3 separate regions of the Homo sapiens genome follow, and regions 1 and 3 are each linked to region 2. The links are contacts of gene promoters, found by promoter capture Hi-C in blood cells and fetal thymus (Javierre and others, 2016). All regions are on one chromosome and are shown on one strand. The core of a region is centred on a gene start or on the middle of the fragment in contact, and the rest is flanking DNA. Distances in the headings are between cores, read along the strand shown. Region 1 has its middle 3.7 kb from the start of SEC22C. Region 2 holds the start of CCDC13-AS1 (CCDC13 antisense RNA 1). Region 3 overlaps SEC22C (SEC22 homolog C, vesicle trafficking protein).

What was found. Contacts are between HindIII fragments. The CHiCAGO score rates a contact against its expected background, and 5 or more counts as called.
Region 1: a contact is called between a fragment that was not itself captured here and the fragment with the promoter of CCDC13-AS1 in region 2, in 2 of 17 cell types (M0 macrophages and M2 macrophages). The highest score is 7.2, in M0 macrophages.
Region 3: a contact is called between a fragment that was not itself captured here and the fragment with the promoter of CCDC13-AS1 in region 2, in 1 of 17 cell types (M0 macrophages). The highest score is 5.4, in M0 macrophages.

The regions. Positions count from the first base shown.
Region 1 is chr3:42,584,269-42,586,968 of GRCh38, forward strand. It overlaps a transcript of SEC22C not described here and a transcript of SS18L2 not described here. Among named protein-coding and RNA genes, the nearest start is that of SEC22C, 3.7 kb to the left of the region's middle. The HindIII fragment of the contact is 5,967 bases long and covers 1-2,700 here.
Region 2 is chr3:42,731,263-42,733,962 of GRCh38, forward strand. CCDC13-AS1 (CCDC13 antisense RNA 1) reads left to right here and starts at 1,313. Exons shown (of 4, transcript NR_046732.1): 1 at 1,313-1,396. CCDC13 (coiled-coil domain containing 13) reads right to left here. Exons shown (of 16, transcript NM_144719.4): 11 at 2,208-2,347; 12 at 1,625-1,708. RefSeq lists enhancers at 1,035-1,329, 1,859-2,544, 2,545-2,700 and a silencer at 1,035-1,329. The HindIII fragment of the contact is 15,297 bases long and covers 1-2,700 here.
Region 3 is chr3:42,550,259-42,552,958 of GRCh38, forward strand. It overlaps SEC22C (SEC22 homolog C, vesicle trafficking protein), which reads right to left. Exons shown (of 7, transcript NM_032970.4): 7 at 1-2,700. Among named protein-coding and RNA genes, the nearest start is that of VIPR1-AS1, 19 kb to the left of the region's middle. The HindIII fragment of the contact is 1,027 bases long and covers 889-1,915 here.

The DNA.
Region 1 (2,700 bases), core at 184-2,683, 150 kb before region 2:
TTTTGAGGCTGAGTCTCACTCTGTGGCCTAGGTTGGAGTTTAGTGGCACAATCTCGGCCCACTGCAACCTGCGCCTCCCAGGCTCAAGTGATTCTTCTGCCTCAGCCTCCCAAGTAGCTGGGATTACAAGCATCTGCCAACACGCCCAGCTAATTTTTGTATTTTTAGTAGAGATGGGGGTTTCACCATATTGGCCAGTTTGGTCTCGAAATCCTGGCCTCAAGTGATCTGCCCGCCTTGGCCTCCCTAAGTGCTGGGATTACAGGCGTGAGCCACCACGCCTAGCCGGGACATAGACTTTTGAAAGTCAGCATCATATGGGCGGAAATCGAAGTGGGGCTTACATAGCCAGAGAAAAATTACAAAATGAAAACTGAAGAGAATTGTGATACAGTCTAAGATAGCCTCCAGGGTTCACCACCTCCTGGGATTTATACCCTTGTGTAGTCCCCTCCCACAATGAGTCTCTGATAATGAGGGTAGGTCATAACAGGCACAAAGAAGGAGAAAAACCAGGAGATTCAGGGTTGGTAAAGGCAATTGAAAACCCTGTAGCATAAGTGCTCTTCAAATATGGGGAATTGGGGCCAGGTGTGGTGGCTCACACCTATAATCCCAGCACTTTGGGAGGCCAAGGTGGGTGGATCACGAGGTCAGGGACCAGCCTGTCCAACATGGCAAAACCCCGTCTCTATTGAAAAATTACAAAAATTAGCCGGGCGTGATGGTGGACATCTGTGATCCCAGCTACTTGGGAGGCTGAGGCAGGAGAATCACTTGAACCTGGGAGGAGGAGGCTGCAGTAAGCCGAGATCGCACCATTGCACTCCAGCCTGACCTACAAGAGCGAAACTCCATCTCAAAAAACAAACAAAACAAAACAAAACAAACAAACAAATATGGGGAATTGGGCTCTCAAAACTTGTGGTGCGAGTGCTTTAGAACAGGACCTTACACTCTCTGACTGGTGCAACTGGTGTGGTTCAGGCACCATGGTAGATTGGACAACAGGGGTGAGATGTAGTACCTAAAGTCCTAGCTCTCATCTCCAATCATTGTTCACTTTGGCTCCAGGTTCACAGTCAACTCCAGAGTCTTTCTCTTCCAGTCCTCTTCAGTCCTCCACTCCTAGGGTAACACCCTGGACCACAGAAGAGCTCCACCTCTGAAGTTATAAATGCAGACACCTGATCTTTCATCTGTCCTTCTGCTATTCTCTGAATTCCTTTCATGGTTTCTCTAGCCTGCAGAAACTTCCAGTTCATTTGTCCCTCTACTTTGTTTTATTTATAAGCTCCATCGAGTCTTCATTTCCTTCCCCATCAGCTGAGAGTTCAGGGTTTATCACCTCCATCACATTCTTCCCAATATACTTATATTCCTTGCACAGTTATCTTTCTGGCATAACTAGAAGGATAGTAACACCCATCTGGCAGCACTACAATCCTGGAAGAATCCAACCTTCTGTCTTCTCTGAATCTGCTTCTTGGCTCTAAGTGCTGCTGGACAAAATCTCACAACCACACAGATCAGTGCTACATACATTGTCAACTTCAACTAGGTCCTCAACACCTTTCAGCGCTCCTATTTGCCAAGGCAGCTCTCTCTCCAGCTCTCCCCCAAAATCAACTTCCAAATATCCTGCATGCTCCCCAGATCTCCCACTCTTCAACCCCCCCTCCCCCGCTTGCTCTCCCAGGAACCTCCGTTACTGAAGAAAGAGCAACCATCAAAGTGATGTCCCTTAGCTCCAGACAACTCCTCTCCTTCCAGCTACCACCTTCTTTCCCCTCTCCCCTTTACAACCAAACCTCATGGAAAAAGTGGTCTATATGTGAACACTCCATTGCTTCACCTTCACCTTTCATTATTTCTCAGTCCCCTGCAGTTCTGATACCTGTTTCACCATATCACTGAAAATGCCCTCCTCAAAGACCTAGTCTTTATTCTTCCTTGTTCTTTTGTTGTTGTTGTTGAGACAGAGTCTCGCTCTGTCACCCAGGCTGGAGTGCAATGGCACTGAGGCTTACTGCAACCTCTGCCTGCCGGATTCAAGTGATCCTCCAGCCTCAGCCTCCCAAGTAGCTGGGACTACAGGCCTGTGCCACCATGCCTGGCTAATTTTTGTATTTTTAGTAGAGACAGGGTTTCAACATGTTAGCCAGGCTGGTCTCAAACTCCTGACCTCAAGTGATCTGCCTACCTCGGCCTCCCAAAGTGCTGGCATTACAGGTGTGAGCCACTGCACCCACCCCTTCCTTGACCTTTCAACAGCATTTGTCATTGCTGTCCTGTATGTCCTTTTCAGTCACTGTTTAAAAAAAAAAAAAAAGCCATAACCCCCACTCTCCTGGTTTTCCTCTTCCTATATCTCTAGTCTCTTTCTCCCCTCAGTCTCCATTGCAGCTTCTTTTCCTCTGCCATAAGAGAAACTATCACATTCTCCTTAGGCAGTCTTATCCACTACATAGTTCCAGTCAGTTTCTACAAGTGATGTTTCTCAAAGCTGTATCTCCAACCTAGCCTTTGTCCCTGAGTTTCAGCCCCAAATAGCCACAAGCCTCAACATCGTTTGACATCACCTCACACTGTACATTTCCACAACTGAATATATCACCTTCATTTCCATTCCAGCATCTCCCCCACTGTTCCCTGCCTACATAAGGGGCATCACCAGTTTCTCAGTTGCTTAACCCAGAA
Region 2 (2,700 bases), core at 63-2,562:
TAGGGAAGGCTGCAGAGCTGGGCAGTGTACTGAAAACTGGGCTGGGGCATGTGATCCTGAGGGCTGACTTCTCGGTGGTCTTGGGCAGGTCTCTTCCTCTCTCTTGGCCCCAGTTCCCCCACTAAACATTGAGAGGGGTGGTTTAGATGGGCTCCGAGAACTGCAGACCCCTCTGTGACTCCTAAATATGCTCTAAGGCCTTGCTACTACAAGTGGTCTCTGAATCGGTGGCTCTGGCATCTCCTAGCAGCTTGTTAGAAATGCAGAATCCCAGGCTTTACCCCAGACCTGCTGAATCAGAACCCACACTTGACCTGGCTGATCAGCAGGGGCTCTGTGTGTGCACTGCAGTTTGGAAAGCCCCATTCATTTCCCCAGTTCTAGAATGTGGGAAGAGGAGGAGCAGGAGCAAAGGGCCGATTCTTCACTCTGCCCTCCTCCCAGGCACCCCACCAGAGTCACCTGAAGGGAATGGGTTCAAACCATGCCAGCCCGAATAGACATACTCTCTGGGATCACTCTGCCCTGTGAATTCCTGTCCTGTCACCTGTGGGAGGGGACTGTAAGCTCCATGAGGGTAGGGCCCACACATGGTCGAGTTTAGTAAGTATTTGTGTGTTGTGGAAGAAACAAGCCTGACAACCAGCAGTCTGGGCAGCCAAGGCACAGAGCAGCTCCTGTATTTCTGTGTGGCACAGAGGTCACAGCCACACAGGCCTGGAAGGGGCTCGAAGGGGTCATCTTGTCCATCTTCCTGCTCTCTTTACTGTGACTAAAACCTCAGAGAGGCAGAGCCTCCCCAATCTCCCTGTGCTGTGACAAGACCTCCCACCCTAAGGAGCGTGGCACATGCCTTGTGGCTCAGTGTCAGCCCACTCTCCCCAAGTGCCTTTATGACCCCAGCCTGATGGGTGGGGCAGCTTTGGCCCACAGACCCTATGCTGCCAAGTGTCAGCAGCATGCTGTCCCCCACTTTTCGGGGATAGCAGCCCAGAGAAGGACCAGTTTGCCTGGAGCCACAGAGATGAGGGACTGGGGCCACTTGGAGGCTTTGCCTGGAACCTGAGCTGACCTGCCTGAGGGGTCAGGGTGGGGAGTGTTGACAGCAGGAGCATGGCTCCAGTGGACAGTGGGCAGGGCTCGGGACAGGGCTTAGAGGCAGGACAACGCTGTCCTTTGTCTATGGGCTGGCAGTAGGAACAAAGGGCCCATTTACACCCTCTGGCTTGATTCTGTCAACAAAGAGGGGGCCCAAGGTCTGAGGGGATATCAGTGGGAACCCATATCATGTGAAATTCTCCCCTTAGAGGCTGATTCTCAATGAGCAAGAGAAGATGAGGGAAGGTGCTAGAAGCCAGGCCCAGGAAGGTTCCTCAGGTTAATTCTCACGTAGCAGGTAGGAACCCTAGCCTGGGAGTCAGAGGCCAAGATTCTAGTTCTGAAGCTGCTTACTCTATCATCTTGGACAGGACTTCCCTGATCCTCCCTGTCTTTATGTAACCTTGGAAGAGTCCCTGGACTTTGCCTGGCCTCAGTTTCCCCTCCTTTTAATGGGATGGCAATACTGGTTGAGCAATCAAGAATGGGAAAAAACTGTGAGAGTCCGGGGGTCGGGGGTCCATACCTAGGTGAGGTCCTGTGGGGACTGGGCAGGGAAGGCCTCGTGAGAGCAGATTCCACCAGTGTGTGGCCCAGGCTGGTCACAGAGCTGTGTAAAGGCGGAAGGGGCCCATCAGCCTGGGAAGGCAGACCAGGCCCTACTGGGCCTCACCTCTGCATGTGAGGTGGAGCAGTGGCCAGCAGGGGTCCAGGAAACCCTTGCAGCAGTCCTGTGGATTTGCTGCCCTTCTTTCCAGAACTCTTGTTTGCTCAAAATGAGACAGAACAGGAGACACCAGAGCCTTGAACAACCCAACACGGGTCTGTTTGAAGGCCCCAGGGGCAGAAAACTTTTGAGGCCAGCTCAGAAAGGCTCTTACAGAGAGCTGCAACCAGCATGCTCTTGAAGTGATAAAATCTGGGCCTAACCGGCTCATTTCTGCAGACGCAGAGCTAATGTCATAGGAGAGGCCCACGTATTGGAAGAACAACAGCATAGTCATCTTAAAATTGCACCTGTGGCTTCCCATCAGAGGTAGCAAGAAACAACCTTTCTTCCGAATAATTAATGTTCACTTTCCAACCCCTCCCTCCCATTGTTTTCTTACCGAGAAGATCCAAGCCTGCCAACATGATCGCCTGCTGAGGCCGGGGACTTGGTCAGGCCTGGGTCCTCCAGGAACTGGGTATAGGCAGGGCTGACCTCGCGGCCACTGGACCCCTCACCCACTCCTTTATTCCGAAGATACTGTAGGAACAGATGTGGGTTCCATCCTCAGGGCTTTGGCTCAGAGGCCTAGAGAAGGCAGGAGGGGATCTTGGCTTGATTTCGGGGCTTTCAGAGGATATGAAAGAGGCTTCTTTTCAGGAGTGAAAAGCGAGGCCTGTTTGGTGAAGGCACTACTTGCATGATAATGACATCTAATAATGCCTCTCTTCAGAAAGAAAGCTACATGGTGTGAGGACGGTGACTGGGCCAGGAAGCTGTTCTACATTCAGGTTCCAGAGGGAGGTGCACGGCCCTGCATGCGGGGCAGGTCAGAGACTGACGTCTCTGAGTGGGTCCGCTTCTCCAGGCGGCCCCACCCACATGTGGTTGAA
Region 3 (2,700 bases), core at 152-2,651, 180 kb before region 2:
TTCCCAGATCTAGTCCAGTGATGTCAGCTGCACAGGTAGCATTTAACTACTGGGAAAACAAAAGTGCTACAACAACAGTGAGTCCATGGTGGAGTGAGGATAACTCCTGGGATTTGGAACCAGTTTGCTGGTATCAAGGATCACACAAGAGGCTATAAACCTCCAACCCTGAACCAAGTCAAACCTAAGCCTGGGGATTTCCCTCGGATGAAATCACCAGAACTTCTTTCCTATTTTCAGTCTCTTCCTTCAGTGAGCTGAGGATTCTTTTAGCTAGCTGGATTTCAGTCAAACAATGTTTTTGTGGTCATTACTTGTACTGTTTTTCTAGTGCATCTTTTCCCTTTTGTTTGCAAAAGTCAATCTCACCCCATGTAGATGTTAACTGATATCCACACATTCGACCTGGTGTGGATAACATCTCTGGTAGTGCCTCGGTGGTCAGGAAGCATTACCAGGAAGGACTCATCTTCAAGGACCGTTTCTTTACTGCCTGCTGAATATGGATCATAGGCTCAGATGCCCAAAGCACCTGGGGTACAGGTCTACATGGCAACCCAATGCCACATAGGAAAAGAAAACAGTCCATTTTTAAGCCGTTCTTACCGACTTTTTTTTTTTTTTTTTTTGAGACGGAGTCTTGCTTTGTCACCAGGCTGGAGTGCAGTGGCTCGATCTCGGCTCACTGCAACCTCCACCTCCCGGGTTCAAGAGATTCTCCTGCCTCAGCCTCCTGAGTAGCTGGGGCTACAGGCACAAGCCACCGTGCCCAGCTAATTTTTGTATTTTTAGTAGAGATGGGGTTTCACCATGTTAGCCAGGATGGTCTCGATCTCTTGACCTCGTGATCTGCCCACCTCAGCTTCCCAAAGTGTTATTGACTTTTAAAGCTTTTTTGTTCTTCTCATTTAAAACATTTTACCTCCCCTCCTTAACTTCCCATTCTATTTCACCATCTCTTCAAAATTGTCTCCCAGAAAAACTGAAAATTCACCTGCTGGGTATGCAGAAAATTATGCAGATGTGAAATCAGTGTAGAGACAACTTTGGAGTTTATGTCTGAGTATGCTGCCAATATAATTTTCATATTCAGACTTTTTAGAGACAGGGTTTCACTCTGTCATGCAGGCTGGGGTGCAGTGGTGTGATTATAGCTCATGGAAGCCTCAAACTCCTGGACTCAAGGGATCCTCCTGCCTCAGACTCCCAAAGTGCTGGGATTACAGGCATGTGCCATCACATCCGGCTAATTTTTTTTTTTGTAGAGATGAATCTTACTATGTTGTCCAGGCTGGTCTCAAACTACTGGCCTCAACCGAGTCTCCTGCTTTGGCCTTCCAAAGTGCTGGGAATACAGGCATGAGCCATCATGCCTGGCCCATATCCAAATATTTTATGTTTGGTCAAAAATAGAAAATTCTATTATAAAAAATAAAGTTACTATGGCAACATTTTCCCAACATAGTTCCCAGTATATAAACTTATTTTTCTTAAAATGATAACAAGGTAGCTCAATAACAATACAATACCAGTGATAACCAAATATAATTGAATTTTTCTAAAACTACATTCTTACATTCCCTATCCACTCAACTCTTGTAATGGTTTTCCACTTTTAAAAACTATCAAAATAGGATTTTTAAAAATTTATCAAGACCACATAATGCAGTTGAACACTCAAAGTGTTCCATGCAACTGTGGTTGAACTATTCAGATTCCAGACTTCTACCAAGAACAATCCAAAGAGCAAACTCCCAAAATGACCTCCTGCGTGGTACAAAACAAGCCAGGCTGAAATTTCGGGAAACCTAAGGGATCTTATCCAGAACCATATTTTGGAAAACTGTGATCAATCAATTTTTTGACAGTGAAAGAGAGTAACTTTCCAGAGTATGTGTTAATTATATCTCTATCAAGCTTTAAAAAGTTAACAGATACTTAACTCTTGTTCATAAAAAATGAGGCCCTCAAGCTAATTAAGATGACTGGGAAAGGTGCAGAGGAGTAATTAATTTTGGAGGCGCTCTGGGAACAGGTACACAGGGTACAGTAGTCATCATCATTAAAACAACAGGCACTCAGCTCTACTGAAAAGGCTGATGACAGCAGCCCCTCCCAAGCGGATCTGTAAAGTGCCACTGAATCCATGTTCATTCACCTACTCCAGGTTGTGGTCAATTGTAAGTAATCCTGAAATTCTCATTTCTGCTCATGCTGACAAACTTATCATCTAGAAGTACTGGTTATTCAATTAATTTTTAAAATATTCGGATATACCCTGCAAATAAATATAAAACATCTCTGTACCCAAACAGTCCCACCACTATAAAAGGTTACATATAAATTAAATAAACTCAGATTTCTTAACCATTTTCTCAGCTTAAGTTTGCCCTCACCCTAAATGAAGTCCAATTTATATCCAAAATATAATTAAATATTCCAAAGGTATATCGAACCTAAGATATTGAAAAAATGTAAACAAAATTTATCTAGCTTACATTTATGAACCATATTTTTAGGTTTTTAATTCATCCTGTACTGACCCTCTGAAAAAAAAAACTAATCAAGTTATGTTTAGACTGAAAGCTGATTTGGATTTTAAAGTGGTTCCTTGGAGACAACTCTCAATGACTAAAACCAGTGTTATTGAATCAAGTGGTTTACTGTATCATTCAACTTAAAAGACCAAAATATTTCCTT